Regions from separate parts of the Homo sapiens genome. Here all the other regions are linked to region 6. The links are contacts of gene promoters, found by promoter capture Hi-C in blood cells and fetal thymus (Javierre and others, 2016). All regions are on one chromosome and are shown on one strand. Each heading gives the region's core, a stretch centred on a gene start or on the middle of the fragment in contact. The rest is flanking DNA. Distances are from core to core; before and after follow the strand shown.

The links. The method cuts DNA at HindIII sites, captures the fragments that hold promoters and counts their contacts. A CHiCAGO score of 5 or more calls a contact.
Region 1: a fragment that was not itself captured here is called in contact with the fragment with the promoter of SSTR1 in region 6 in 1 of 17 cell types (endothelial precursors); the score reaches 5.5 in endothelial precursors.
Region 2: a contact is called between a fragment that was not itself captured here and the fragment with the promoter of SSTR1 in region 6, in 1 of 17 cell types (endothelial precursors). The highest score is 6.0, in endothelial precursors.
Region 3: a contact is called between a fragment that was not itself captured here and the fragment with the promoter of SSTR1 in region 6, in 2 of 17 cell types (neutrophils and naive CD8 T cells). The highest score is 6.9, in neutrophils.
Region 4: a fragment that was not itself captured here is called in contact with the fragment with the promoter of SSTR1 in region 6 in 2 of 17 cell types (non-activated CD4 T cells and neutrophils); the score reaches 5.8 in non-activated CD4 T cells.
Region 5: a contact is called between a fragment that was not itself captured here and the fragment with the promoter of SSTR1 in region 6, in 1 of 17 cell types (endothelial precursors). The highest score is 5.9, in endothelial precursors.

The regions. Positions count from the first base shown.
Region 1 is chr14:38,599,975-38,605,078 of GRCh38, reverse strand. No RefSeq gene overlaps it. Among named protein-coding and RNA genes, the nearest start is that of LINC00639, 310 kb to the left of the region's middle. The HindIII fragment of the contact is 2,904 bases long and covers 989-3,892 here.
Region 2 is chr14:38,560,720-38,565,777 of GRCh38, reverse strand. No RefSeq gene overlaps it. Among named protein-coding and RNA genes, the nearest start is that of CLEC14A, 310 kb to the right of the region's middle. The HindIII fragment of the contact is 861 bases long and covers 1,850-2,710 here.
Region 3 is chr14:37,919,038-37,923,671 of GRCh38, reverse strand. No RefSeq gene overlaps it. Among named protein-coding and RNA genes, the nearest start is that of LINC00517, 19 kb to the right of the region's middle. The HindIII fragment of the contact is 8,978 bases long and covers 1-4,634 here.
Region 4 is chr14:37,937,015-37,942,144 of GRCh38, reverse strand. No RefSeq gene overlaps it. Among named protein-coding and RNA genes, the nearest start is that of LINC00517, 37 kb to the right of the region's middle. The HindIII fragment of the contact is 597 bases long and covers 2,171-2,767 here.
Region 5 is chr14:38,617,457-38,622,568 of GRCh38, reverse strand. No RefSeq gene overlaps it. Among named protein-coding and RNA genes, the nearest start is that of LINC00639, 300 kb to the left of the region's middle. The HindIII fragment of the contact is 1,130 bases long and covers 1,884-3,013 here.
Region 6 is chr14:38,204,963-38,209,809 of GRCh38, reverse strand. SSTR1 (somatostatin receptor 1) reads right to left here and starts at 1,906. Exons shown (of 3, transcript NM_001049.3): 1 at 1,706-1,906; 2 at 1,201-1,367; 3 at 1-764. The coding sequence starts at 420. LOC124903303 (a long non-coding RNA gene) reads left to right here and starts at 523. Exons shown (of 2, transcript XR_007064117.1): 1 at 523-728; 2 at 1,534-2,595. RefSeq lists enhancers at 1-459, 1,443-2,104. The HindIII fragment of the contact is 9,392 bases long and covers 1-2,250 here.

The DNA.
Region 1 (5,104 bases), core at 1,191-3,690, 390 kb before region 6:
GTGTTCTTCTGAGAAATTAAAAAATATAACATTGATTTATCGAAATTATTAGTGAATAATTTTGCTCCCTTCCTGGGTGAAGCAAGGAGCTTAAAACACTTAGCTTCATTTACATTCTTCCCAACCTATGTGTTATTATTTTTTGTACTGTCAATGTTTATTGAGATTTACTCACAGCTTTCCAAATATCTTTGCTCATTATTTGTATTTTTTGACCTCTGTATCTTTCTCAACAATTATTTTCCCATTCTCTAAAAACATCCTTTACAAAGTCTTTTGGGTGCAGGTCTCTTAGTGGTGAAAACTTTCCATTAGTCATGTACCTAAAAAATGTCTTCATTTTGCCTTTATTTTTGCTGGTTCCAAATTATTGGTATTACTAAATTTGATCATTGATATTTTTCATTAGTTTTAGAAAATTTGAAGCCAAAATCTCCACAAACATTGCCTGTTATCCATTCTTTTTCTCTTCTTCTAGATGTTGAAACTTAGAATCTCTCATGGAATTATCTGTCTTTTACCTTCTTTTTTGTGTTTTTTACCATTTTCTGAAGGTGTGCTGCATTCTGGAGAGTTGCTTCTGACCTGTTTTCTGTTCACCGTCTCTTCACCTGTGCAATATATTGTTAATTCTGCCCATTGAATTCTTAATTTTATTTATGAATTATTCAGTTCTAGGATTTCAATTTGTTTCTTTTTCAAATCTGCAGTCACTTTTTGTAGTTGTCAGTTTCCTACTAAAATTTTACAGCTTACTTTTCTTCTCCTTGAAAATGTTAAGTATAGTTTTACTGTGTCTAACTATGCCTGTGGCTATATTGGATATTTTTATTACTCCTTGTTCTTGCCCATGGTATCTTGCCATGTTTCAGTGAGTGCTGGACATTGTGTTTGAAAAAGTATTTGTTGAAATAATTTAAAACTTAGGATGATATTATTTGCCTCTGAAGAGGGGTGCTAACAATCTAGAATATCCTTACTCTAAGCTTCACAGCTTGAAATTTTAGGGGCCACTGAAATTTGGACAGGGATGGAGTTGGAGGCCATTATCCTTAGCAAACTAACACAGGAACAGAACATGAGTTCTGATTGATTTTTTAAAAAATCATTAATTTCCTTGCCTTATCTTTTAGTTGAAAGTGTTAGGCTCTTTCCTTGTTCTTTTAGTATTCATTTGAGAAATTACAAAATACATCATTAATTTATCAAAATATGTGGTTAAATACCATATATTCTCACTTATAAGTGGAAGCTAAATGATGAAAACACATGGACACATAGAAAGGGACAACAAATACTGGGGCTTATTGGAGGGTAGAGAGTGGGAGGAGGGAGATGATCTGGAAAAATAACTAATTGGTACTAGACTTAATACCTGGGTGAGGGAATAATCTGTACAACCAAACTCTATGACACAAGTTTACCTATGTAACAAACCTGCACATTTACCCCTGAACTTAAAAGTTAAAAAAAAAGGAAGACTGCAGACTGGTCAAGGATTGGTTTATTTTTGTTTCACCACTACTCTGAGGGCATAGCCATTTGGGGGCTCAATACTCTGTACTGGGTGGGGCCTGAACTCTGACATTCTCCCTTAGCTCAAAAAGGCTTTCAGAAACACCTATGGGCTCCCTCTTTCAGATCAGCAAATGCCCCCAGGTATCCCTTTCCCCAAGTCTTAGATTTCTGCCCTGTAATTCCTTATTATACTGACATGCTTTTGATGCTTTTAAGAAACTTTTTAAATAACATATTTATATCAAGTTTTGTGTATTTTTTTCCCAGAGGGTAGTCTGATTTGGTTTGAATTACTTTATCCCCTCATACCTAAAGCAGAAATCTCTTCATCTCTTTATGTCTTCCATTCTATTTTCTTGGCTTCTCTTCTCTCAATCTCTCTCTCTCTCTCTCTCTCTCTTTCTCTCTCTGTCTCTCTCTCTGTATGTGTGTGTGTGTGTGTGTGTGTGTGTGTGTGTGTCTAGCTTTTGTTCTCAGTCTCTCTCAAAATACTTCTGGAGTGCCTATTTTTTCAGAAGAAGAATACATGGAAGATAAACACTTCATTGGTAGTTTGTTTATGTATAAAATTCTTGATTTAAAGTCATTTTATCTCAGAATTTTTAAGACATTTTCCCACTGTTTTTAACATTTATTGTTGCTTATGAGAAGACTAACATTATTATGTCTTTGGTTTGGCTGTACATACAGGAAATCTTCCTTCTGTTTTCTAGGAAAATTAGCACCAGATCAGTCCACTTATTATAATCCATTTAAAATGGATTATTGGGATGCTATTTTCTGATAAGAATAAATGATACCATGCTATGACATCTTCTAAGTTTATATTTCACTTTCCAACACAATCATAAAGATAATAACTTTTATAAAAATATTTCAAGACTTTTACCAAGGGCCTATCTTAAATCCTTTGATTGTTGAATGATTCTTCTTTGAAGACCCGTTCTTGTCATTTTTTTTCTGGTTGATTTTCTTCTCCTTCATCCTTAATTGACCTGCCTCTGCTAATCCTCATTTAGCTAACTTTGTTGGTGACTTAAAAGGTTACCAACACTTTTATCTACTCTATGAAATCTTACATCTTTTCAAGTTTTGCAATTTTACTTTGAAATAAAGTTGTGTTATGTATTTATCACACATTTATTAAGATAGGGTTGGGGTATTTGAGTGAGTCAGGATTAATTTTACAAGTTCATTAATGAATACTTTTGAGGCATGACTGCTTCCCTACGCAATTTCATGGCTATAAGAATTCAGATAATGGGGCATGGCTGTCAAGATGGCTGAATAGGAACAGCTACAGTCTGCAGCTCCCAGTGAGGTCAATGCAGAAGGTGCGTGATTTCTGCATTTCCAACTGAGGTACGTGGCTCATCTCATTGGGACTGGTTAGACAGTGGGTGCAGCCCACGGAGGGCGAGCCGAAGCAGGGTGGGGTATTCCCTCACCCAGGAAGCACAAGAGGTTGGGGGACTCCCTCCCCTAGCCAAGGGAAGCCATGAGGTATGTGCTGTGAGGAACAGTGCACTCTGGCCCAGATACTATGCTTTTCCCATGGTCTTCATAACCCGCAGAGCAGGAGATTCCCTCAGGTGCCTACGCCACCAGGACCCTGGGTTTCAAGTACAAAACCAGGCAGCCCTTTGGGCAGACATCAAGCTAGCTGCGGGAGTTTTTTTTTTTTTTTTTTTTTTCCATACCCCAGTGGTGCCTGGAACGCCAGCAAGACAGAACCATTCACTCCCCTGGAAAGAGGGCTGAGGCCATGGAACCAAGTGGTCTAGTTCAGTGGATCCCACCCTCACGGAGCCCAGCAAGCTAAGATCCACTGGCTTGAAACTCTTGCTGCCAGCACAGCAGTCTGAAGTCGACCTGGGATGCTCCAGCTTAGTGTGGGGAGGGGCATCTGCCATTACTGAGGCCTAAGTAGGTGGTTTCCCCTTCACAGTTTAAAAAAAGCTGCCAGGAAGTTCGAACTGGGTGGAGCCCACTGCAGCCTGGCACAGCCGCTGTAGCCAGATTTCCTCTCTAGATTCCTCCTTTCTGAGCAGGGCATCTCTGAAAGAAAGGCAGCAGTTCCAGTGAGGGACTTATGGATAAAACTCCCATCTCCCTGGGACAGAGGACCTGGGGGAAGGGGCAGCTGTGGGCAGAGATTCAGCAGACTTAAATGTTCCTGCCTGCCAGCTCTGAAGAGAGCAGTGGATCTCCCAGCACAGCACTCAAGCTCTGCTAAAGGACAGACTGCCTCCTCAAGTGGTGCCCTGACCCCCATGCCTACTGACTGGGAGATACCTCCCAGCGGGGGTTGACAGACACTGCATACAGGAGAGCTCCAGCTGGCACCTGGCAGGTGCACCTCAGGGACGAAGCTTCCAGAGGAAGGAACAGGCAGCAATCATTGCTGTTCTGCAGCCTCCACTGGTGATACCCAGGCAAACAGGGTCTGGAGTGGACCTCCAGCAAACAGCAGCAGACCTGCAGAAGAGGGGCCTGGTTGTTAGAAGGAAAACTAAAAACCAGAAAAGAATAGCATCAACATCAACAAAAAAGATGTCCACACAGAAACCTCATCTGAAACTCATCAACATCAAAGACCAAAGGTAGATGAATCCGTGAAGATGAGGAAGAACTAGCACAAAAAGGCTGAAAATTCCAAAAACCAGAATGCCTTTGTGATCCAAAGGATCACAACTCCTCACCAGCAAGGGAGCAAAACTGGATGGAAAAATGAGATAGATGAATTGACAGAAGTAGGCTTCAGAAGGGTAGGTAATAACAAAATCCTCCTAAAGGAGGAGCTAAAGGAGCATGTTCTAACCCAAGGCAAGGAAGCTAACAACCTTGAAAGAAGGTTAGACAAATTGCTAACTAGAATAAACAGTTTAGAGAAGAACATAAATGACCTGATGGAGCTGAAAAACACAGCACGAGAACTTTGTGAAGCATACAGAAGTATCAATAGCTGAATCAATCAAGTGGAAAAAAGGATATCAGAGATTGAAGATCAACTTAATGAAATAAAGTGTGAAGACTAAATTAGAGAAAAAACAGTGAAAAGGAACAAACAAAGCCTCCAAGAAATATGGGACTATGTGAAAAGACCAAATCTATGTTTGACTGGTGTACCTGAAAGTGATGGGGAGAATGGAACCAAGTTGGAAAACACTCTTCAGGATATTATCCAGGAGAACTTCCCCAACCTAGGAAGACAGGCCAGCATGCAAATTCAGGAAATACAGAGAACACCACAAAAATATTTCTTGAGAAGAGCAACCCCAAGTCACATAATCGTCAGATTCACCAAGGTTGAAATGAAGAAAAAAATGTTAAGGGCAGCCAGAGAGAAAGGTTAGGTTACCCACAAAGGGAAGCCCATCAGACTAACAGCAGATTTCTCTGCAGAAACCCTACAAGCCAGAAGAGAGAGGGGAAAAATATTCAACATTCTTAAAGAAAAGAATTTCAACCCAGAATTTCATATCCAGCCAAACTAAGCTTCATAAGCAAAGGAGAAATAAAATCCTTTACAGACAAACAAATGCGAGAGATTTGGTCACCACCAGGCCTGCCTAACAAGAGCTTC
Region 2 (5,058 bases), core at 1,031-3,530, 360 kb before region 6:
GGTGTAGTCAGAATACTAAAACTGAATAGTTTACAGGGCTAGCTCAAACAGTGGGCTTGTAGGGATTCTAGGACCGGGTATTAGCGTATGGTTCCCCTCTTTATGCAGAACACCACAGAAAGACAAAGCCAAGGAAAACAGCAACAAAAAGGCTATTTCTGAAGTGAAAGGAATCAAACAATATGAATATTTATACCACAAAGTACCAAAAGCACACTAGAGTCACTACACCCCAAAACTAGTCACACAAATCCTTTTTTCCCTTTAATCAAAACCTTGAGACAAAACAGTCATTTTTACCATCCATTCAACCAGATTTCACAGAGTAAGTCTAGGAGCCTGATTTATAAGTTCTTAACTTTTACTGGCTTGTTAGGATCCTGGGATCTCTTCACTGTGGCCTTCATAAGATCAGAATGGCTTTGGAGGTACCCTGCTTGCTGTGCCGTAACTGTGGGAGCCAACAGAGAGCTTTCCTTTTGGTCTTCTGAAGGTTCACTGAAAAATCAACGACATGAGTCAGATTGTTTAATAGAATAAAAGGCATACAAATTTATATAATGTTTATACACTGTAGCCTTCGGAATGAAGATTCTACCTTCTATTTTTTGATGTAGGCATTTAACACTATAAACCTGCCTTTAGCACTACTTTTGCTGCATCCCAAAGGTTTTGGTATATTGTGTTTCTATTTTCATTTATTTCAAAAATTTTAAAAATTTTCATCTTAATTTCTTTATTGACCTAATGGTTATTTAAGAGCATATTGGTTTATTTCTATATATTTGTGTAGTTTCTGGAGTTCCTGTTGGTATTGATACTTCTATTCCACTATAGTCTGATATGATTTGATATTTAGAATATGATTTCAATATTTAGAAATTTCTTGAGACGATATGATTTCAATATTTAGAAATTTCTTGAGACTTGTTTTGTGCCCTAAGATATTGTCTATCTTGGAGAATATTCTATGGGCTGATGAAAAGAATGTATATTCTGCAGTTGTTGGGTAGCATGTTCTGTAAGTGGCTGTCAGGTCTATTTGGTCAAAAGTCCAATTTAATCCAGTGTTTCTTCATTGATTTTCTGTCTCAGTAAAGTGTCTAGTGCAGTGAGTGGGGTGTTGATGTTCCTTAATATTATTGTATTACTAGCTATCGCTTTCATTAGGTCTAGTAATATTTGTTTTATGAATCTGGGTGCTCCAGCTGTTGGGTGCATATATATTTAGTATTATTATATCTACTTGTTGAATTGATCCATTTATCATTATATAATACACTTCTTTATCATTTTTTTTTTACTGTTTGTGATCTAAAGTCTGTTTTGTCTGACATAAGTATACCTCTGCTGCTTGCTTGTGGTTTCTGTTTGCATAGAATGTCTTTTTATTTTTAGTCTAAATGTCTCTCTAGAGATAAGGTGAGTTTCTTGTAAGTGGCATATTATTGGCTCATGTTTTTAAAATTCATTCTGTCAATATATATCTTTTAAATGAAGCATGTAATCCATTTACATTCAAGGTTAATATTGATATGTGAGTTTTGTTTTTGCTGTCATATTCTTGTTATCTAATTGTTTTCTAAATTCTTTCTCTGTTTTTCTTTGTGCCTTGGTAAAATTTTCTCATGTTGCCAGTTGATTCCTCTGTCTTCCTCCTTTGTGTGATTGTTTTATACGACTTTGAGTTTTATATTTTTGTGTGTTTTTATTATAGCACATATCAACCTTTCTTTTCCATGTTTAGGACTCCTTTGAGCATTTCTTGTAGGACTGGACTAGTGGTGATGAATTATCTCAATGTTTGCTTGTCTGGGAAAGATTTTATTTGTCCTTCATTTATAAAGCTTAATCTAGATGAACATAAAATTCTTGATTTACAGGTTTTTTAGTTGTTGTTGTTTGTTTGTTTCAGCACTTTGAAAACCCCACGCCATTCTTTTCTGGCTTGTGAAGTTTCTGCTGAGAAGTCTTCTTTTGGGGTTTCCTTTATAGGTGACTAAATGCTTCTTTCCTACTGACTTTAGAATGCTTTCCTTCATATTGTCTTTAGACAGTCTAATGACCATATGGCATGGTGAAGTCAATTTTGCAATTTATTTTCTGGGGATTGCTGAGCCTCCTCTATTTGAATGTCTAAATTTCTTCCTAGGCTAGGAAAGTTTTTGTTGATTACTTTATTTTATTCTTTTTTTTTTTTGAGATGGAGTCTTGCTCTGTTGCCTAGGCTGGAGTGCAGTGGCACGATCTCAGCTCACTGCAAGCTCCGCCTCCTGGGTTCACACCATTCTCATGCCTCAGCCTCCTGAGTAGCTGGGATTACAGGTACCCACCACCACGCCCGGCCAATTTTTTTGTATTTTTAGTAGAGACGGGGTTTCACCGTGTTAGCCAGGATGGTCTTGACCTCCTAACCATGTGATTCACCCGTCTCGGCCTCCCAAAGTGCTGGGATTACAGGCGTGAGCCACTGCGCCCAGCTGATTATTTTCTTAAATATGTTTTCTGAACTTTTTTCTTTTTCCTCCTCCTCAGGAATAATGTTTAGATTACTAAAGTTGGTCCCTTTATGTATTCCTATATATCTTGAAAGCCTTATTCTTTTAAAATTATATTTTCTTTATTTTTATCTGACAGGGTTAACTCAAATGACCTATTTTCAAGTTATAAGATTTTTTTCTTTTGCTTGGTCTAGTCTTTTGTTGAAGCTTTCAATATATTTTGTAATTCCTTCAATTAATTTTTCATTTTTATATGTTCTGTCTTTACACGGAAAGATATCTATCTCCTTTGCAAATTTTTCATTCATATTCTGAATTCATTTTTTAAAAAAATTTCTCTGTATTGGTTTTTAGAGACAGAGTCTCACTCTATTACCAAGGCTAGAGTGCATTGGCATGATTATAGCTCACTGCAATCTCAAACACCTGGGCTCAAGCAATATTCCCACTTCAGCCTCCTGAGGAGCTAGGCCTACAGGCATGCACCATCATGACTGGCTAATTAATTTTTTTTTTTTTTTGTAAAGACAGGGTCTCTCTATTACTGTGCCTGGCCTTGAACTTATGGCCTCAAGCAATCCTCCTGCCTTGGCTTCCCTAAATACTAGGATTACAGGTGTGAGCCACTACACCCTGCCTTAAAATCAATATTCTGAATTCCTTATATGGCATTTTGAGGATTTCTTTTTGGTTAGGATTCATTGCTAGAGAATTACTTTATTCCTTTGTGGCTGTCATAATACCATGCCATGCTTTGTGTATCTTTATTTAGATTTCTGTGCATCTGGAAAAACTGTTGCTGCTTCTTATTTTAAATTTACTTTCATTGGGGAAGGACCTTTTTTTCTTGAGGATGGGACTGTGATGTATTTTGAGTAGGGCCATTTGGCTTTGCTTCTTGGTGCATTCAGTGACAAAAATCCTGTATGATTTCTTGGTTCTATATACCTTTAGTGTGGTGGCTTTCTCAAGTGCTGGTTATAGTATGGTGTACCAAGGAAGTAAGACAGCTCATGACCTCCTGACTAGCTAGGGTGGCCTGGGTGGTGGTGGTAGCAGAGGCCACAAGAAGCTTATCTTTTTCCTAAGCACTGCATACTGTGCCAGCAGATGTTTTAACAGACTGTGCAGGTGGACCTACAGATCAGTAGATGACACTTGCAGGTAAGAGCCAGCTGTGATGGAAGCAGTAGGATATATGTCTGACTTCTGTTAACTTGTAGAAGTGTTCAGGTGTCCCTGGTGATGGAATGGGCTGTGAAATGCTCAGTGGTCTTTCTTGATGGATGGGCCATGAAATGCTCAGTGGTCTTTCTCCATGCTTTGTCTTGGAGTGGGGGGTGAAGCTGGGAAAAGCTGGACTGGTCCAGCCTGCACTTGGGCCCCCTGTGGCAGGCACAAGTGCTGACCCTGACAGGGATAGGGAGCAGTCCTCAGACTGCTAGAGAAATGCCTGGGCAAGGAGCAGAGCAACTGCTGCTGCACCAAGGTCTTAGCATGGGGAGGGAGGGGCAGTCCTAGCACCACAGCCTAGCAAGCAGGAGTGGGTACTGCTTTCCTCTGACTCCCATAACTGGCAGAGTTCATTCCCTTGTTTTGACTGTGGCAGCCAGTCAGGACAGTTAGTTTATTGCTGCAATTTGCTTCCAGTGCACAAAACTGTCCCAAGCTGTAAACCTTGCTGCCTGGGTCAAAACCATGCCTCCCCAGCAACTCTCTCCCTGCTCTAACCCCGTGATGGGGGGCTGCCCAATTCCTACACCAGCAGCTGGAGCTCACACCACATTTGCGTCTCAGGTCTGGCTAGAGGAGACCCTTTTTTGCTCCAGTCCCAGATCTCCAATCTATAGCCTATGTCTCTCTGATGCCAATGGCTGCCACTGCTTTTAGCTCCCAGGATTGCAGACAGCTTGCTCTAAAATAGGATCAAGAATGATATCCTTCTATAGGTGCCCAGGTCTTGGAGTGTCTGTAGGATACTTCCCTGAGCCACTCCTCCTATAGCTCCTGGCCTCTTCTTAAGTTAGATCCAGGGTTTGGAAGAATCAAGGTGCTCTCCTATAGGCTGGATTGCATGATTCCCCAGTGGGGAAGTGGACTTCAAAGACACTCACCCTTTCTTGTGCCAGGGATTCACTCATAGTTTTCAGCCAGACCTGTCTCTTTCCCAGGACCTGACATTTTCTTAGACTTTTCCATTGAACTCCCATGTTCCTTCTTGGATAAAAGTTCAAAATGTGAATCTCTACACACTACTTTCTTCTTGTAAGTGGATTATGCATGCTGGAATAGCCTTTAGTTGGCTGATATAGTTTGGATGTGTATTCCTGCTCAAATCTTATACTGAAATGTAGTCCCCAGTGTTGAAAGTGGGGCCTGGTGGGAGGTGACTGGATGATGAGGATGAATTTCTCATGAATGGTTTAGCACCACCCCTGTGGTACTGTCCTTGTGATAGTGAGTTCTCATGAGATCTGGTTGTTTAAAAGTGTGTAGCATTTCCCCCTCCCTCTTTTGCTTCTGCTCTGGCCATGTGACATGCCTGCTCCTCCATTGC
Region 3 (4,634 bases), core at 1,615-4,114, 290 kb after region 6:
TCAGCATCCACTGAAAACAGAGAATCTAATAAGTTTCCATTTAAGCCCTTTCTCCACCTCAGAACAGCAAAGATACAGGGAGAAGGTAAGAGGAAATATGGCAAAGAGGAAGCAAAGGTTGATTTTGCTTTTTGGGTTAAAAATTGCATACACTGGATCACCATGGTTTTGTATTTCCTTTATTTACTACGATTTTGGTTTTCTTTTTTTTTTTTTTTCTTTTTTTTTTTTGAGACGGAGTCTCGCTCTGTCGCCCAGGCTGGAGTGCCGTGGCGGGATCTCGGCTCACTGCAAGCTCCGCCTCCCGGGTTCACGCCATTCTCCTGCCTCAGCCTCCCAAGTAGCTGGGACTACAGGCGCCCGCCACTACGCCCAGCTAATTTTTTGTATTTTTAGTAGAGACGGGGTTTCACCGTTTTAGCCGGGATGGTCTCGATCTCCTGACCTCGTGATCCGCCTGCCTTGGCCTCCCAAAGTGCTGGGATTACAGGCGTGAGCCACCGCGCCCGGCCTGGTTTTCTAATTAATATTACTAGTACAACTTTTACATTCCAATCTGTTTCCAATGACAGAGCTTCTTGCACTAACAAAAACAACCAAGACCAGGAGTGTGTTTCAGAAGTCAGGAGCCGGAGTGACTCAGGGAGCCGAGCCAAAGACTTGCAGATCTGGGGGCGAAACTGGATCCTGAAATGAGACTAAGTGGCCACCATTTGCTTCCTGTTTAGACAGGTGTTCCCTTCTTTATTTGCTCCTTAAAAGCTGACTTTCTGCAATATATTAAGTATCTTGAAGATCCTAAATGTAGAAATTTTTGTAGGGTGGTGTAGGATTAGGTGGGATGGGTGGTCTTGAATTGCCTCAATAGACTTTGGTCATGGTTAAACCTGATCCATTTAGGGTAGAGTTTCCAAAGTAGGATGACAGATTTCCTGATTCCAAAGGTTCTTACTCAGCTATACAGTGAGTTGAAATCCCTCTGAGTCACTCTCCACTTATGAACATATGGCACTAAGAACAATTTTTTGGACCCTAACATCTTCTTACCATGTCCCGTACTTCACAGCCTTTCCTAGGGCTGACCCTAAGAATTGGCACATGGTTGTGTAGGTACACAAAGAGTAACTTGGAGAAGCTAGAAATTTGTTTTCATGTTTCATGTTTTCATATTTTTGACCTTTAGAAAATGAGTTTTACTGTGCAGAAGCTCTTTAGTTTAATTAGATCCCATTTGTCAATTTTGGCTTTTGTTGCCATTGCTTTTGGTGTTTTAGACAAGAAGTCCTTGCCCATGCCTATGTCCTGAATGGTATTGCCTAGGTTTTCTTCTAGGGTTTTTATGGTTTTAGGTCTAACATGTAAGTCTTTAATCCATCTTGAATTAATTTTTGTATAAGGTGTAAGGAAGGGATCCAGTTTCAGCTTTCTACATATGGCTAGCCAGTTTTCCCAGCACCATTTATTAAATAGGGAATCCTTTCCCCATTGCTTGTTTTTCTCAGGTTTGTCAAAGATCAGATAGTTGTAGATATGCGGCATTATTTCTGAGGGCTCTGTTCTGTTCCATTGATCTATATCTCTGTTTTGGTACCAGTACCATGCTGTTTTGGTTACTGTAGCCTTGTAGTATAGTTTGAAGTCAGGTAGCATGATGCCTCCAGCTGTGTTCTTTTGGCTTAGGATTGACTTGGCAATGAGGGCTCTTTTTTGGTTCCATATGAACTTTAAAGTAGTTTTTTCCAATTCTGTGAAGAAAGTCATTGGTAGCTTGATGGGGATGGCATTGAATCTATAAATTACCTTGGGCAGTATGGTCATTTTCACAATATTGATTCTTCCAACCCATGAGCATGGAATGTTCTTCCATTTGTTTGTATCCTCTTTTATTTCATTGAGCAGTGGTTTGTAGTTCTCCTTAAAGAGGTCCTTCACATCCCTTGTAAGTTGGATTCCTAGGTATTTTATTCTCTTTGAAGCAATTGTGAATGGGAGTTCACTCATGATTTGGCTCTCTGTTTGTCTGTTATTGCTGTATAAGAATGCTTGTGATTTTTGTACATTGATTTTGTATCCTGAGACTTTGCTGAAGTTGCTTATCAGCTTAAGGAGATTTTGGGCTGAGACAATGGGGTTTTCTAGATATACAATCATGTCATCTGCAAACAGGGACAATTTGACTTCCTCTTTTCCTAATCGAATACCCTTTATTTCTTTCTCTTGCCTAATTGCCCTGGCCAGAACTTCCAACATTATGTTGAATAGGAGTGGTGAGAGAGGGCATCCCTGTCTTGTGCCAGTTTTCAAAGGGAATGCTTCCAGTTTTTGCCCATTCAGTATGATATTGGCTGTGGGGTTGTCATAGATAGCTCTTATTATTTTGAGATACGTCCCATCAATACCTAATTTATTGAGAGCTTTTAGCATGAAGGGTTGTTGAATTTTGTCAAAGGCTCTTTTCTGCATCTATTGAGATAATCATGTGGTTTTTGTCTTTGGTTCTGTTTATATGTTGGATTACATTTATTGATTTGTGTATGTTGAACCAGTCTTGCATCCAAGGGATGAAGCCCACTTGATCATAGTGGATAAGTTTTTGATGTGCTGCTGGATTCAGTTTGCCAGTATTTTATTGAGGATTTTTGCATCAATGTTCATCAAGGATATTGGGAACAGGCAACATACAAAATGGGAGAAAATTTTCACAACCTACTCATCTGACAAAGGGCTAATATCCAGAATCTACAATGAACTCAAACAAATTTACAAGAAAAAAACAAACAACCCCATCAAAAAGTGGGCAAAGGATATGAACAGACACTTCTCAAAAGAAGACATTTATGCAGCCAAAAAACACATGAAAAAATGCTCACCATCACTGGCCATCAGAGAAACGCAAATCAAAACCACAATGAGATACCATCTCACACCAGTTAGAATGGCAATCATTAAAAAGTCAGGAAACAACAGGTGCTGGAGAGGATGTGGAGAAATAGGAACACTTTTACACTGTTGGTGGGACTGTAAACTAGTTCAACCATTGTGGAAGACAGTGTGGCAATTCCTCAGGGATCTAGAATTAGAAATACCATTTGACCCAGCCATCCCATTACTGGGTATATACCCAAAGGACTATAAATCATGCTGCTATAAAGACACATGCACACGTGGTTTATTGCGGCACTATTCATAATAGCAAAGACTTGGAACCAACCCAAATGTCCAACAATGATAGACTGGATTAAAAAAATGTGGCACATACACACCATGGAATACTATGCAGCCATAAAAAAATGATGAGTTTATGTCCTTTGTGGGGACATGGATGAAACTGGAAATCATCATTCTCAGCAAACCATCGCAAGGACAAAAAACCAAACACTGCATGTTCTCACTCATAGGTGGGAATTGAACAACGAGAACACATGGACACAGGAAGGGGAACATCACACTCCAGGGACTGTTGTGGGGTGGGGGGAGGGGGGAGGGATAGCATTAGGAGATATACCTAATGCTAAATGACGAGTTAATGGGTGCAGTACACCAACATGGCACATGTATACACATGTAACAAACCTGCACATTTTGCACATGTACCCTAAAACTTAAAGTATAATAATAATAAAATAAAATAAAAAAGAAAATGAGTTTTAATGAGAGGTTAAATAATTTGAAATAATTTTTCTTTGGAATATTAATTAAAATTTCTGAAAGTTTCTGGGCAGATATTTTAGGAACCTGGTATTAGTGTTTAAGTATCTCAGGAATACACTTCTGAATGAATTTAAAATTAAACTTTGGGCCAGGTGCGGTGGCTCCCGCCTGTAATCCCACCACTTTGGGAGGCCGAGGCAGGCAGATCACAAGGTCAGGAGATGGAGACCATCCTGGCCAACATGGTGAAACCCCGTCTCTACTAAAAATACAAAAATTAGCTGGGCGTGGTGGTTCGTGCCTGTAATCCCACCTACTTGGGAGCCTGAGGCAGGAGAACCGCTTGAACCAGGGAGTTGAAGGTTGCAGTGAGCCGAGATCGCGCCACTGTGCTCCAGCCTGGTGACAGAGCAAACTCCGTCTCAAAATAAAAGAAAAAAAAATTAAACTTTGGCTATGCTACATGTCATTAATAAAACACATCTTGTCCAGCTAAGCATTTTTAAAATTTTACGTGCAAAACACACACACATACATACCCAAAAATTGTTGGCAAAAATCCAGGGAATCAGACAGAGTTATTTTTCTCCCAAAATCTAACTCTGCTTTAAAAAATAAACACAGAGATATCAGCCTTCTAATCTCATACTCAAAGGATTTATCTTTTTCAAGCCAAAGATATTTGGAAATTAAGTTGAAGTTGGATATATAAGCTAGTTCTATACTTAAAGGGTATATGGATAACAGAATCTAAGGGTATTGTCATTTTCTTATAAATGGCTTTATTTTTACCAGAAATTAATGTTCTTTGTAACTCTAATAACATACATTAACAAAATGAAGAAAACTAAAATTACCTACAAATCTCATGACCCAGAGTAAATCGTTAATGTTTAAAAAATTATCCTTCTACTCTTGTTTCTAAAAATTAAATGTATTTTTTAAATTACTTTATACTTTATTGTGCTATCATTTATTAAATA
Region 4 (5,130 bases), core at 1,220-3,719, 270 kb after region 6:
TTCTGTATCCCCACCCAAATCTCATACTGAATTGTAAGCCCCACATGTTGGAGGAAGGGCCTGGTTAGAGTTGATTGGATTAAGGGGGCAGAGTTCTCCCTTGTTGTTCTTGTGAAAGCCAGTGAGTGCTCATGAGATCTGGTTGTTTGAATGTGTATAGCACTTCCCTCTTCACTCTCTCCTGTCACCATGGTAAGATGTGCTTGCTTCCCCTTCACCTTCTGCCATGATTGTAAGTTTCCTGAGACCTCCCCAGCCATGCCACCTGCACAGCCTATGGAACTGTGAGTCAATTAAATCTCTTTTCTTGATAAACTACCCAGTCTCAGGTAGTTCTGTATAGCAATGTGAGAATGGACTCATACAATACCCTTAGATCAAATGGCTGAGTCTCAGTCAATTACAGTAGCTGAGCTTCAGTCAATCACAAGAGACTAACTGATTCAAATAACGCAAAACACCAACTAAACTGCCTCTGTATCTCACTTCTGTTTTCTGTCCATAAATGCTGCACAACCACATGGCAGGCCAGAGTTCTTAGAATCTGTTCTGGTTCTAAGAGCTGCATGATTCATTCATTAATTTTTCTTTGCTCAATTAAACTCTATTAAATTTAACTTGTCTAAAGTATTTTTCTTCAGCAAAGCTTTATTCATAATAGCTGAGAACTGGAAACAATGCAAATGTCCATTGAACAGTAAATGGATAAACTGTAGCAATATCTGTGCAATGGAAAATCATTTACCTATAGAGAGAAATGAATAAAATGATAAAAAGAACAATAGAGATGAATCTCAAAATATTTATGCTGAATGAAACAAGCCAAATGAAAAAAAAGACACATACTGTATGGTTATTTGTATAAAATACTTAAAATGCAAACTAATATATAGTAACAGGAAACAGATCAGTTGTTGCCTCAAGCAGTGTGGGTAATGATTAAGAGGACGGGCTTACAAAGGGGCATGAGCAAATTTGGAGGTGGTCATGATAGATATATTTACTATAGTCAGCCTTCCATATCCCCAGGTTCCACATCTGTGATTCAACCAATCACAGATTGAAAATACTTACAAAAAATGAAAAAATAACAATACTACTACAAAAATAAAAATGAAAAACAATACAGTATAAATACTGCTATTTATATAGCATTTGCATTGTATTAGGTATTATAAGTAATCTGGAGATGATTTGAAGTATAGAAGTGGATATGAGTTAGGTTGTAGGCAAAGACTATGCCAAGTCCTATGCCAAGGACTTGAGCATCCACAGATTTTGGTATGCAGGAGGTCCTGGAAACAATCCCTCACAAATACTGAGGGTTGACTATATATCAATTACGGTGATGGTTTCATGGGTGCATACCTATGTCAAAATTTATCAAATTTTACACTGTACATTTGTGCTGGTTATAGTAAATATATATGGTATAGTATTTTATAGACAACTGAATAATGAAGTGAATACACAATTAAAACTAGCTGAACTTCAAGTTTGCTGAGTGAGAGGCAAGATCATCCACAATATAAATATTTCCAGGATCTCCAACAAATTGTTTAAATTCATTTTTAAAAGCAACAGCTGCCTATGATATCTTTCCAATATTCTTTTTCTGAATATAAAGATTACCTTTCATGTCTTTGAAATGTACAAAATATCTGTGCATTTCTAAAAAACAAATGTTTTTCTAATGAAAGAAACAGTATAAGCAAAACAAATTCTTCCACTGCCCCACATCCTCTTAATACCCAACCACACCCACAGAAGAGTTGCAAACATTAAAAGAAATGATCAACACCATGTGCCTCTTGATCATAAGTAAACAAAAATATTCCACAAAAATAATTTGGTCAAGCAAGAAGTGGAATAAGTAAACATTTCTCCTTTGCTTTAAAGAAAAGGAGATTCACATTTTAATACTTATCTAACCATTATTTAAGGGAAAAATTAAATTAGATGTATTAGATTCCAAGATCTTCTCTGTAGAGAAAATCGATGTTATTAATCATTTATTGAGCCCAGTGCCCTAATGCCAAAATTTAAAACTCTCTCTTAGAGAAGGGCAGTGTAACAATAACAAAAACAACCATAACAATAATGGTTATTTTTGCTGATATTTGCTGAACACATAGTATATGCCAGGCAGTACTATAAAGTCATTTAAGCTTATAGCCTTTGAGGCAAGTATCGTTACCATTCTCATTTTACATTGTAGGACTGGAGACAGAGAGATTAAGTGACACAGCCAGTGAGTGGCAGAGCCAGGGTTGGAGGTCAGATAGTTCAGCTCCAGAGTCCACTTCCCGACTCCCCGTCACATGCCTCCCAGACACGGGTTTTGTGGCAGACAGACCTGAACCTGTTTTCTCACCCTGCTACTCTACTTAATTGCACAGTTTTCTCACTCTGGTTCTTAAACGAGTCTACTGCTGCCAGCCCCTCAGGCTGTTATGGGAATTCAATGAGATCAGGTAAGTCTCCTGCCACAGATCCAGGCCAGTAGGAGGCATTTGGTTATGGTTGCACAGGCACTGGCGATACAAAAACATGCCAGACAAGACCACTGCCCTTGAGGAGCTCACCTTTGAGAGTAGAAGAGGACCTGCAGTATTCCTTCCACAACTGCCAATTCTTCATTGAAAACACATTAAATTGTCTCTGCATTTCTTCCACAACTGTGTGCATATTGGATCCATGACTCCAAGTGACCATCGCTTTGTGTTGTGACTAGCCTGTGAGGTGAAATGAATGAAGAGTGGAAGCTTGGAAGTCTGGATTGTTGATTTCCAAACTTGTTCTCCCTCCTGCAACTGCACAGGCAGTGACGACTTCCTAATCTGGTAAAAAATATTATTCTAATTATGCAGTGCTTTAGAAGGCCAAATGTTATTGAACATAAAGTGCTTAGATGGTAGGCCTCATCAGCTCCAGCTCTCAAGTTTAATGGTTTTACACATGAAACCTTATGATGCCACAGTAGGGAGTTCATTTCTAATAAGGACTCATAGAAATCATTTTAAAATGCTCCTCCTACCACTAGAAAAACTGAATATTAAATGTGACTGAAAGAGAGACGGTGTCCCCCATAAAAGAACACAAATACAGAATGGTCAGGATACAGAAGAGCCCAGCATCATGAAAATAAAAGCCAGTACTTTGTGGAACATATTGAAGCAAATCAAATTTTTCATATACATCAATTATTACTGCAAAAAGTAGTAATCTATATTTGATATCCTGCAGATTCTGTTTTCCGAGTGCTAGCCCCTTCCACTTATTGAGCTCAGTGCCCTCATACTAACATATTAACCCTACTTTTAGAGAAAGGCAATGTAATGGTAACAATAATAATGGTTATTTTAACCAATAATTATTGAGCACTTAGACATACTAAGTGCCAGGCAATACTATACTCATTTATGCTGATAACAGCCCTATGAGGTGAGTAGTACTATCATGCTTATTTTACATCTTAGGAAGCAAGACACAGAGTGATCTAGTACTCAACTACATAAATTAAAGCAGGAACTTTATATGAGGTTTAAATGATTTGATACAATTTTCTAAGGAGGTGCAAAGAGACTCAAAACAAATCACTGAATGTGCACTGCATGGTTTCTTTTAGTTGGGTAGCATTGATCAGAAGAGAAATTTATAACATTAAAGGATGGAAATCACAGTACATATACAGTGGTTTGCACAATTGGGAGAAAATGATGCAATAAGTAGGAGACTACAAACAATAGAATGCTGTAGAGTCCTTAAAATTATGTTATAAAAAATATTTAAGCCTGGTGCAGTGGCTCACACCTGTAATCCCAGCACTTTGGGAGGCTGAGGCGGGGCAGATCACAAGGTCACGAGATTGAGACCATCCTGGCTAACACAGTGAAACCTCATCTCTACTAAAATTACAGAAAATTAGCCAGGCATGGTGTCGGGCGCCTGTAATCCCAGCTACTCGGGACGCTGAGGCAGGAGAAAGGCATGAACCCAGGAGGTGGAGCTTGCAGTGAGCCAAAATGGCACCACTGCACTCCAGCCGGGGCGATAGAGTGAGATACCGTCCCCCCACCAAAAAAAAAAAATTAATCACATGGGAAAATGGTCATGATACAGTCTTAAGTGAAAATAATTTTTAAAATATATACCACGACGATGAGGACACAATAGTGAACAAAGCAACCAAAAACCCTGCTTGTGGGGAGCTTACCTTCTATGATCACAACAAAAAATATATATATATGATAATAGATATTCAGGTATTATCTGTCTAGCATCTTTTTGAAAACGTATCCTTCTCCACTCTGATTCTCATAATATTCTTCAGTCCTTGAGTACTCAATCATGGGCCTCTTCTTGACCTCTACACCTCTGCAGGTCTTGGGAGTGGGAAGGTAACACAGCTGTAATTGAGTATTCAACACAGCTGTAGCCCATCACAGTAAGCCATCCTTGGGCTAGAGTGAGTGCTAAAAAATAAGCACATGTCCTAAACCAGGACAGTCAGACGCTTCACTGATATTTTTGTCAAAGCAAATGGGGAAAAAAAAATTTCTTTCCGATGGAATTGTTAAGATTTTGAGGTGGAACTCAGGCTAACCAGGGTCATCATGCCTACTATTTGAAGAGAATGGAACTAAGAATTGGAGAGAAAGAGGAAACCTTGATAAAATCATTTTTATTTTTTTACTGAAAGCTATTTAAGTTTCCTCCCGCTGTAAAGAAAAAAAAAGCTAAAACAAACATATCATAGGGATCTCTGCTTGAGCCTAGGTTTGACAGTATATCTGATTAAATTGGTGGGGCCAGTAAAGGAATCTGTTTGCTCACATTAATAGGCAGAGATAAATGTGCTCTGCTGGGCCTGGAGTGTCAAAAACAGAGGGTGCAGCAAACAGAACAGTGTTTGTTCCCCAGTTGCTATGCATTTTTTGAGTCCTAAAAAATGAGCAGGTGCTGGTAAAAGGAGGCATTTTTGTGGAATACTTTGTTAGGCTTGAGGGCAAGCACGTCTTCTGAGGGCCCCAGGATAGTGACACGGCAGATGTGGTATGAAACACAGTATGGCTCTGCCACAGTGAGGACTGCAGGGCATTAAGTTTATTTTGTTAGCTGAAGAATTTG
Region 5 (5,112 bases), core at 1,199-3,698, 410 kb before region 6:
CAGCCTCCCTCCTGGATGCTTTCATGGTCTGGCATTGCATGTCTGTGGCTTTTCCAGGCAAACGGTGCAAGCTATTGGTGGATCTACCATTCTGGGGTCTGGAGGACGATGGCCTTCTTCTCACAGCTCCACTAGGTGGTGCCCCAGTAAGAACTCTGTGTGGGGGCTCCAACCCCACATTTCCCTTTCTCACTGCCTTAGCAGAGGTTCTCCATGAGAACCCCACCCCACAGAAAACTTCTGCCTGGGCATCCAGGTATTTCCATACATCTTCTGAAATCTAGGTAGAGGTTCCCAAGCCCCAATTCTTGAATTCTGTGCACTCACAGACTCAACACCCCATGGAAGCTACCAAGGCTAGGGGCTTGAATTCTCTGAAGCCATGGCTGGAGCTCTAGGTTGGTCCCTTTCAGCCGAGGCTGGAGCATCTGGGACGCAGGGCACTAAATCCCCAGGCTGCACACAGCATGGGGACCCTGGGCCTGGCCCACAAAATCATTTTCTCCTAGGCCTCTGGGCCTGTGATGGGAGGGGCTGCCATGAAGACCTCTGACATGCTCTGGAGACATTTTCCCCATTGTCCTGGGGATTAACATTCAGCTCCTCATTACTTGTGCAAATTTCTGCAGCTGGCTTGAATTTCTCCTCAGAAAATGGGTTTTTCTTTTCTATCACATTGTCACGCTGCAAATTTTCTGAACTTTTGTGTTCTGCTTCCCTTATCAAACTGAATGCCTTTAACAGCACCCAAGTCACATCTTGAATGCTGCTTAGAAATTTCTTCCACCATATACCCTAAATCATCTCTCTCAAGTTCAAAGTTCCACAAATCTCTAGGGCGGGGGCAAAATGCCACCAGTCTCTTTGCTAAAACATAACAAGAGTTACCTTTGCTCCAGATCCTAAAAAGTTCATCTTCATCTGATACTACCTCAGCCTGGATTCCATTGTCCATATCATTATGAGCATTTAGGTCAAAGCCATTCAACAAGTCTCTAGGAAGTTCCAAACTCTCCCATGTTTTCCTGTCTTCTTCTGAGCCCTCCAAACTGTTTCAACCCCTGCCTGTTACCCAGCTCCAAAGTTGCTTCCATATTTTTGATATCTTTTCAGCAGCACCCCACTCTACTGATACCAATTTACTGTATTAGTCCATTTTTATGCTGCCTATAAAGACATACCTGAAACTGGCCAATTTACAAATGAAAGAGTTTTAATGGAGAACTCACAGTTCCGTGTGGCTGGGGAGGCCTCATAATCATGGTGGAAGACAAGGAGAGGCAAGTAACATCTTACATGGATGGCAGAACTTGTGCAGGCAAATTCCCATTTTTTTAAGCCATCAAATGTTGCAAGACTTATCCATTATCATAAAAGCAGCACTGGCAAGACCCGCCCCCATGATTCAGTTATCTTCCATCGGATCCCTCCCACAACACATGGGAATTATGGGAGCTGCAAGGTGAGATTTGGGTGGGGATACAGAGCCAAACTATGTCAACAAGATTAGGTAGTTAATTTGAGATATGTCGGTCTTTTTGCTGTAGGCATTTAATACTATAAACTTTACTTTTAGCATTGTTTTTGCTGTGTCCCAGAGGTTTTTTTATGTTGTGTCTTTATTTTGATTTGTTTCAGAAAATTTTTTGATTTCTGCCTTAATTTCATTGTTTACTCAAAGGTTATTTAGGAGCAAGTTGTTTAGTTTTCAAGTACTTGTGTAGTTTTGAGAGTTCCTCTTGGCATTGATTTCTAATTTTATTCCACTGTTGTCTGAGATGCTACTTGATATAATTTGATTTTTTTTTGAACTTATTGAGATTTGCTTTATGGCCAAGCATATGGCTGATTTTGGAGAATGTTCCATATGTAGGTGAGAAGCTTGCATATTCTGTGATTATTGGATGAAATGTTCTAGAAATGTCTACTAGGCCCAGTTGGTCTACAGTCTGGCTTAAGTCCAGAGTTTCTTTGTTGATTTTTGGACTCAGTGATCTGTCTAGTGATGTCAGTGGGTTATCGAAGTTCCCCACTATTATTGTATTGCTATCAATCTGTTTTCTTAGATCTAGTAGTATTTGTTTTATGAATCTGGGTGCTCCAGTATTGAGTACATACATATTAAGGATAGTTAAATCTTGTTTTATTGAAGACTTTATTATTATATACTACATTTTTTGCCTTCTTTTTAACATTATTGGTTTCAAGTGTGTGTTAATCTGATGTAAGAATGGTTATTCCTGCTCCTTTTGTTTTCCTTTTACATCATATATCTTTCTCCACCCTGATATGATTTGGCTTGTCCCCAGCCAAATCTCATCTTGAATTGTAACTCCCACGATTCTCTCGTGTTATGGGAGGCGATCATGTTATGGGGGTGTGTCTTTCCTGCATTGTTCTTATAATAGTGAATGAGTCTCACGAGATCTGATGGTTCTAAAAATGTGGGATTCCTGCACAAGCTCCTTTTCTGTTTTTTTTTTTTGCCCAATTTTTATTCTGGCCATGCTGGCAGCTGAGTAGATTGTGCCCACCCAAATTAAGGGTGGATCTGCCCTTCCCACTCGACTGACTCAAATGTTAATCTCCTTTGGCAACACCCTCACAGACACACCCAGGATCAATACTTTGCATCCTTCGATCCAATCAAGTTGACACTCAGTGTTAACCATCACACACCCCTTTGTTTTGAGTCTGTGTCTGTCTTTAAATACAATTTGCCACTTTGTAGCTTTTGTGTAGAATATTTAGGTTATTTGGATTCAAGATTAATATTGATATGTGAGGTTTTGTACCTGTCATAAAGTTTTTAGCCTGTTGTGTTGGAGTTTCAATGCTTTCTAGGATTATGAGCTTTGTACTTATATGTCCTTTTATGATGGCAAGTATCATCCTTTAGTTTTCATGTTTAGAACTCCTTTGGGCTTTTCTTGTTGGGTCATTCTAGTATCAGTGAATGTCCTTAGCATTTGTTTGTCTGAGAAAGAATTTATTTTCCTTAACTTATGAAGCTTGATTTGGTAGGATATAAAATTCTTAGCTAGGCATAGTGTCTCATGCCTGTAATCCCAGCACTTTTGGTGGCCAAGGCAGGAACATTACTTGAAGCAAGGAGTTCAAGACCAGCCTGGGCAACAAAGTGAGACCCTGTCTCTGCAAACAAACAAACAAACCAAAAAAAAAAAAAGAAAAAGAAAAAAACTGGAAAAAAAAATCTTGACTGACACTTCTTTTCTAAGGAGACTAAAAATATGCTCCCAGTCTCTTCAGGCTTGTGGGATTTCTGCTGAGAAGTCCACTGTTAGTCTGTTGGGATTTTCTTTATAGGTGATTAGATACTTTTCTTGCCACTCTTGGGTATTTTTCCTTCATACTGACTTTGGATAGTATGATGACTATATGCCTTGGTGAGGTTCTTCTTGCAATGTACCTTCCAGAAATTTTCTGAGCTTCTTGTGTATGGATGTCTAAATGTCTCCCAAAACCAGGGAAGTTTTTTGAATTATTTCCTCAAATAAGTTTTCCACACTTTAAACTTTTTCTTCTCCCTCTCGAATACCTATAAACTCAGAGGTTTGGATGATATAATGTATGTTGTGTAGGGTCCTTTGCCTTTGGTTCTGGGTGCTTTCAGTGGCAAAGGGTCTGTATATGTTCTTTTGTTATAGATAGCCTTTTTATGGTTACTTTTCCAAATGCTGGTTGGGTAGAGATGTACTTGGTGTGTGAACAGGCTCACTGCCTCCTGTGGTGCAAGGGTAGTGAGAGTCTCAGGAGGTGTATCTCATTCCCCAGTGCTGTGCACTTATGTCAGATTTTCTTTGGTGTTGTGCAGTTCAACCTCCAGTCCAATAGGTGGTGCTTATGGGTAAAAGCTGGATGCAGGCAATGCAGATGGGTACACACTTGATCTTTGTGTACTGGGAGAAACTCTCTGTTTCTTCACACAATGGGCTGATCTGTGGAATGTTCAGTGATCTGAGCTCTCTGCTCAGTCGCAGAATGGGGGAACCAAGATAGGTGGTGCCAGACCAGGCAGGCCCATATGCAGGTCCCCCAGTGACAGGTGCAAGCATCAGCTCTGAGGGGGTCCAGTGGGCAGTTGCCAAGTGTACATGGTGTGCCTCTGCTGTCCTATGTTCTCTGCATAAGAATGGGGGAGGATGGCCTGAATTCCTAACCTGTAAGAGTGGATGCTCCAAATGCCTGCAGATATATCTGGACATCAAGTAGAAAGAGTACAGCTGCACCAAGTTCTCTGCACCAGAAGGAAGGGACGGCTCAGCCTTGTAACCCAAAACAATGAATGTGCCAAATGCCTGGAAATATGCCCTGGCAAAGAGCAAAGATATTGTTGTTGCAACAAGGTCTTTGCAGGGGAGGATAGGGCCAGCTCAAGCTCCTAATTTGGGGTAGCAGATGCCCTTCAAATTTGGTAATATGCCTGGGGAAGGAGAACAGAAACCATTGCCACAACAAGGTAGTTGCATGGGAATGGCAGGGCGACTTAAACTTCTAATCTGTAGGAGTGGTTGTGCCAGATACCTCCGGTTACATCTGGGTATGGCATAGAGGGAGTGCTCCTGCACCAAGTTCTTCATGTGGGAAGGGAGTGGCAGCTCAAGCTCCTATTCCAAGGGGGAAGGTGCACCAAAAACCTGAAGATATGTCCGGATGTGGAGCAGAGAGTGTGCCACTGCAACAAGATCTCTGCATGGGAAGAAAGAGGTGGTCCAAGCTAATAATCCAGGTGAGCAGCTGCTCTGAATGAATGGAAATATTCCTGGATGTGGAGTGGAGGAAGCACTACTGCACCAATATCTGCACAGGAAGAGAGTAGTGGCTTACACTGCTGATCCAGGTGGGCAGGTACTCCAAATGCCTGGAAACATGCCTGTGCATGGAGTGGAGAAACTACCACTGCATCAGGATCTGCATGGGAAGGGAGGGGGCAACTTAGGCTGCTAATCTAGGCAAATGGGTACTCCAAATGCCTGGGAATGTCCCGTGGATGGGGCACCACTGCACCCAGATCTTTGCAGGGGAAGGAAGGCTTGGCTTACGCTCCCAATTCAGATGAATATGAATGGGGTCTTCCTGTCTCCCACTCCT
Region 6 (4,847 bases), core at 657-3,156:
GTTGACCGCGTCCACGCTGAGCACGAGGCGGCAGAGCAGCGCACCGAAGGGCCAGTGGCGCAACAACGTGGAGGTGACTAGGAAGGGCACGCTGAGCATGAGCAGCTCATCAGCAATGGCCAGATTTAGGATGTAGATGTTGGTGGCCGTCTTCATCTTGGCATAGCGCAGGATCACGTAGATGACCATAGAGTTCCCACACAGCCCCACCAGGCACACCACGGAGTAGATGAAAGAGATCAGGATGGCGCTGCCCTGGCCCTCGCTCAAGGTCCCGTTCTGGGACGCATTTCGCCCTGGCTCCTCCATGCCGTCCGCAGCGCCGGCCCCGGGGCCCCTGCTGCCGCCGCCTTCGCCGCAGCTGCCCGGGCTGGGGCTAGGAGAGGAGGAAGGAGAGGAGGCGGTGCCATTGGGGAACATCCCAGCTGAGGGGGGCCAGTGGGGCTGCCAGGGCTGGGGCTTTCTCCTCGCGCACCCGCCGCCTGCGCCCTCCCTCCCCACCCGACCGCTTGCCTGCAGCCCACAGCCGCCCAGCGCCTCCGGGTAGAGCGCAACCGCTGCGGGGAGCGCGGCTCCTACCGGCGCCGGCGGGGCGCACAGCCCAGCGGTTGCCTGGGCTCTGCAGTTTGCAGCTCCGGGGTGCCCGGGCACAGGCGACCGTGGAGAGGAGAGGCCAGGATGTGGGAGCACCGCACGGCACAGCCATTAACTGGCGCGGCTCTGGACTGGTAAATGATTAATAGGCACCACCAGCGCGTCAGCAGCTACGAAAAAAGGGGGTGGGGTGGAGAAAGGGAGGAGAGCACATAGGTGGCTTGTCCCCCCCGCCCCCCATTTTTTTCCTTCCCAGTCCTGCACTCTGCTCAACTTTAGTGGCTCCTTCCGGGGTTCCCTCGCAGCACCATCTGCCTCTTGCTCTCAGAGGAACCAAGAGAGTTCCTCGGCCTTACTGGAGGGCGGGTGGGAACCAAAGGTATAGATTCTGTCTCATTCCACTCCTCTCCTACCCAAAGCAAAGACTCAAACGGATCCATGAACATGGATGTCTGGAGTTCATCTCAGTTTCCCTCCATTGCTGCCCTTTTCTCTGGAGACCCCAGCTTCTCTCCCGTCCCGCAGTCCAGAACCCTAAATTCCCTCTTCCCACCCTCGCTTGCCTTGCAGCTCAGACCCGCCAGGGAAGTTCCGGGCCCTCCTTACCCAAAGTGCGCAACCTCCAGACTGAGACGTAGATGGTCGGTGCAAAGTGCATGTGCGGTCTGTTAGCAGGTTGACGATCTTCGCGCAGACCAACTCCCTTCTTTGCGCCTGGCCCCAGCACAGGTGCCCACGCAATTACTCTTAGAATCGCGGAAACTGGCCCTAAGCTGCGAGCGTTATGAGAAGAAAGGACAACCACCGTGCGTTAGGGGCTTCTGCGCTATAACACAGCAGGCAGCTTAGGCTATTGGGAGTGTTCAGGGACCTGAGTGAACCATTCGCAAATCTCTTAATAAAGCTCGTAGCGCTCAGAGCCCCCCGTGTCTCCCACAGGAATATCGACTGCAGAAACGAGGACGCGCAGCTGGGAGCTCTGGAGGAGCTTGAGACTCCCTCCAGAAACGTGCCAGGCGCGGTGTTGGGAATCCACCTAGGTGTTCACTCGGGAAAGATAAGGCTGCGCCGCTTGGAAGGGCTCCACCCGCGTCCCTGCTGTACTTTGTACCCTGGAGAGTTGGCGGGTTCTGGCAGACGAGAGTTTAAAGGCTTGGGCGGGCGGGGACGCCAGCTCTTCTAAATCCAGGTGAGGAGCTGCCGCCGTGCGATGACCAGACCTGTCACCAACCCCAGGAACGGCAGGGCGACATTCGAGTTTTTCCGGGAAGAGCTAGGATGTCAGCTCTTTCTGAGGCTTGATTTGTGAGCTGGCTCTGGGTCACGTGCCCAAACCATTAGGAGATATCAATGTAGGCAAGCCTGAAGCTCACTGACTTCATTTAAGAATCAAAACGGTTTTCCCGTAAGAAAGAATGTATGTTCCGTTATCAGGATTTTAAACGAACCCTGGGACTTACCACCATTCTTACTCTAGGGTCTCTTTGGCTTTCCAACTGTTCCTGTGGAAGGAAGAATCACACTCCATGCAACTTCCCTGTTCCTTTTCATAAACGTTGCTTTGCTCGGTAAGATCCCTGCAAGCCTTTATTTGAAACTAGCCTGTTCACAGGAAGAGTGACCCGCAGCAGCTTAGTGCTCTGCCTCCTTCAAGCTTTGCTGTCTCCAGTTTTTCCTTAGTTTCTCCTTCTCCTCAACCAGGCTGTGCCCGCTGTACTGTAAGTCTCAGTTTTCCTCCTCTCAGTAGAGTTTACTCCAAGGAGAGGCTAAACTCCTCATGGAGGCTATCTGTACCGGTCCAGAATGAAGAAATGGATGCAGAAATTAAAAACAAAAAAGTATATTTCCTAATGCCCTGTTGCTTTATCCAGGTAATCACTTACATATACTGCATGTGTTTTAGTTCCCAAAACTAATTGTCTTGAACAGGAAAGAATAACTTCTGTAGTGTGTTGATGATAGCAATCAAAGACTAAAATAAATGACAGACTTTCATAGGAATGTGTGCAATTATTAATGAGGAATGTGCTAGGATGGAATTTGAAATTTCATACGGCTGAAACTGTTTTAACCCATTATTTTACCTGAACAAATTGCCTTCTTTAAAGTGGAATGTACAATTGGTGTTTAGTTATATTTATTTTTCCTTTACAAATACAGCACATATGGAGAGAAAATAAATGTTCATTAAGTTAAAAGAAAAGAGAGTGGGTATTGTCCCAGAATCCCAGAAGAGCATTTTACTAGCCAAGCCTCATATAATGCCTTAGATGCCTCTGCCAATCACTGACTAAAGACACCTGACTATCTGTACCTCTGGGAGCTTGGATTTCAACAGTCATTATTTAGATGCCTTGGCTTTGATCATGGTTGCTCTTTGGGAAGTGTGTGATGGGAGTCAGTGAAAAACAGCTCTGTTGTTCAGAATTTCATTAAATTCACTTTCAGCTCATCTTAGGGAAAATTTCTCTCAATTTTGTGGCCTCATATACAAAAGAAGAAAACTTAAGACCTGACGTGAGAATGCTTTTTATTTTTATTTTTTTGAGATGCCACTTTTCACCCACTAGGATGGCTATAAGAACATTTTTAAAAACAAAAAATAAACGTTAGTGAGAATGTGGAGAAATTAGAACACTCATACATTGCTGGTGGGAATAAAAAATGATGCAGCAACTTCAGAAAAAAATTTTGGCAATTGCTTAAAAAGTTTAAAAGTTTAAAAGAATGACCATATGAGCCAGCAATTCCACTTCTATTTACTCCTCAAAATTGAAAACAGGTGTTTAATCAAAAACTTGTGCATGAACATTCATAGCAGCACTATTCATAATAGCCAAAAATTAGAAACAATCCAAATATCCATCAATTGCTGAATTAATAAATTGTGGTATATCCATACAATGGAATAGTATTCAACCATAAAAAGAAATGAAGTACTAATACCTGCTTCAGCGTAGACGAAGCTTGAAAACACTATGCAAAGGGAAAGAAGCCAGACACAAAAGGCCACGTGTGGCATGATTCCATTTATATGACATGCCCAGGGCAGGCAATACATACAGACAAGGTACGTTAGTGGTTGCCAGGGGCTGGGGGCAGAGGGGAAAGAGGAAGGACTGCTTAATGGGTATGAGCTTTCTTTTTTGAGTGGTGAAAATGTTCTGGAATTAGATAGTGGTGATGATTGCATAACATTGTGAATATGCTAAAAATCCCTGAATTGTACACTTCAAAAATGACTAAAATTATAAATTTTATATTATGGGAGTTTTACTTCAATTTTAAAAAGCATGAGAGAAAGACAAAGAGAGGGATTGAGATGGATATAAGCTATGCAGCATTATTAAATCTTTTCAGTTATGTATTTATTTTTAAATTATTATTATTATTATTATTATTATTATTATTATTATTATTTTGAGACAGGGTTTTGCTCTATCACCCAGGCTGGAGTGTAGTGGCACAATCACAGCTCACTGTAGCCTTGATGTCTCAGGCTCAAGTGATCCTCCCACCTTAGCCTCTGGAGTAGCTGGGGACTACAGGTGTGCCCCACGATGCCTGGCTAATTTTTAAGGTTTTTGTAGAGATGGGGTCTTCCTATCTTGCACAGACTGGTGTGGAATTCCTAGCTCAAGCAATTTTCCTGTCTCAGCCTCACAAAGTGCTGGTATTACCCGTGTGAGCCACCGTGCTCAGCCCAGTCATGTATTTCTAATTATTGTATTTGTGAACTAATCTATGAACAACAAAAACAAACAAACAAACAAAAAGGGTGGCATTTCTGGGCCACCAGGAAGGTGGATTGGGGTTGCAGCTATTTTCAAATTATATTAAAAGCAGGATCCCAGTTAGAGCGCTATCTTCCCCTCAGATCTCAATTTAATGTAAATATTTCCAAAGAAAAAGGAAAACTGATATGGGCATGAGATCACTTTAATTTGCAAAAAACGCAGCCAGTGAATAGTCAGGACTCAACAATCTTCTTGTCTTGTTAAAAACTTTTTAGGTTCACATGTCTAAAACCTTGAAAAGATTAGGAAGAGCTTGTTTTCTCCCTACAAGTTACCTGTCCTCCAGCCCTCTTTGGTTACCATCTTTCCTATGCCTCTGTGATATGAACATTTATAGATAGAAAAGAAGGAGATGTTTTCCAGAAAGGGGAAAATGAAATGTTCCAATTTAGGAAGTTGCAGATTCTTGAGCAGACTGATTTTCTTCCCTCACTGTAACTTTCTCCTACAAGCTAT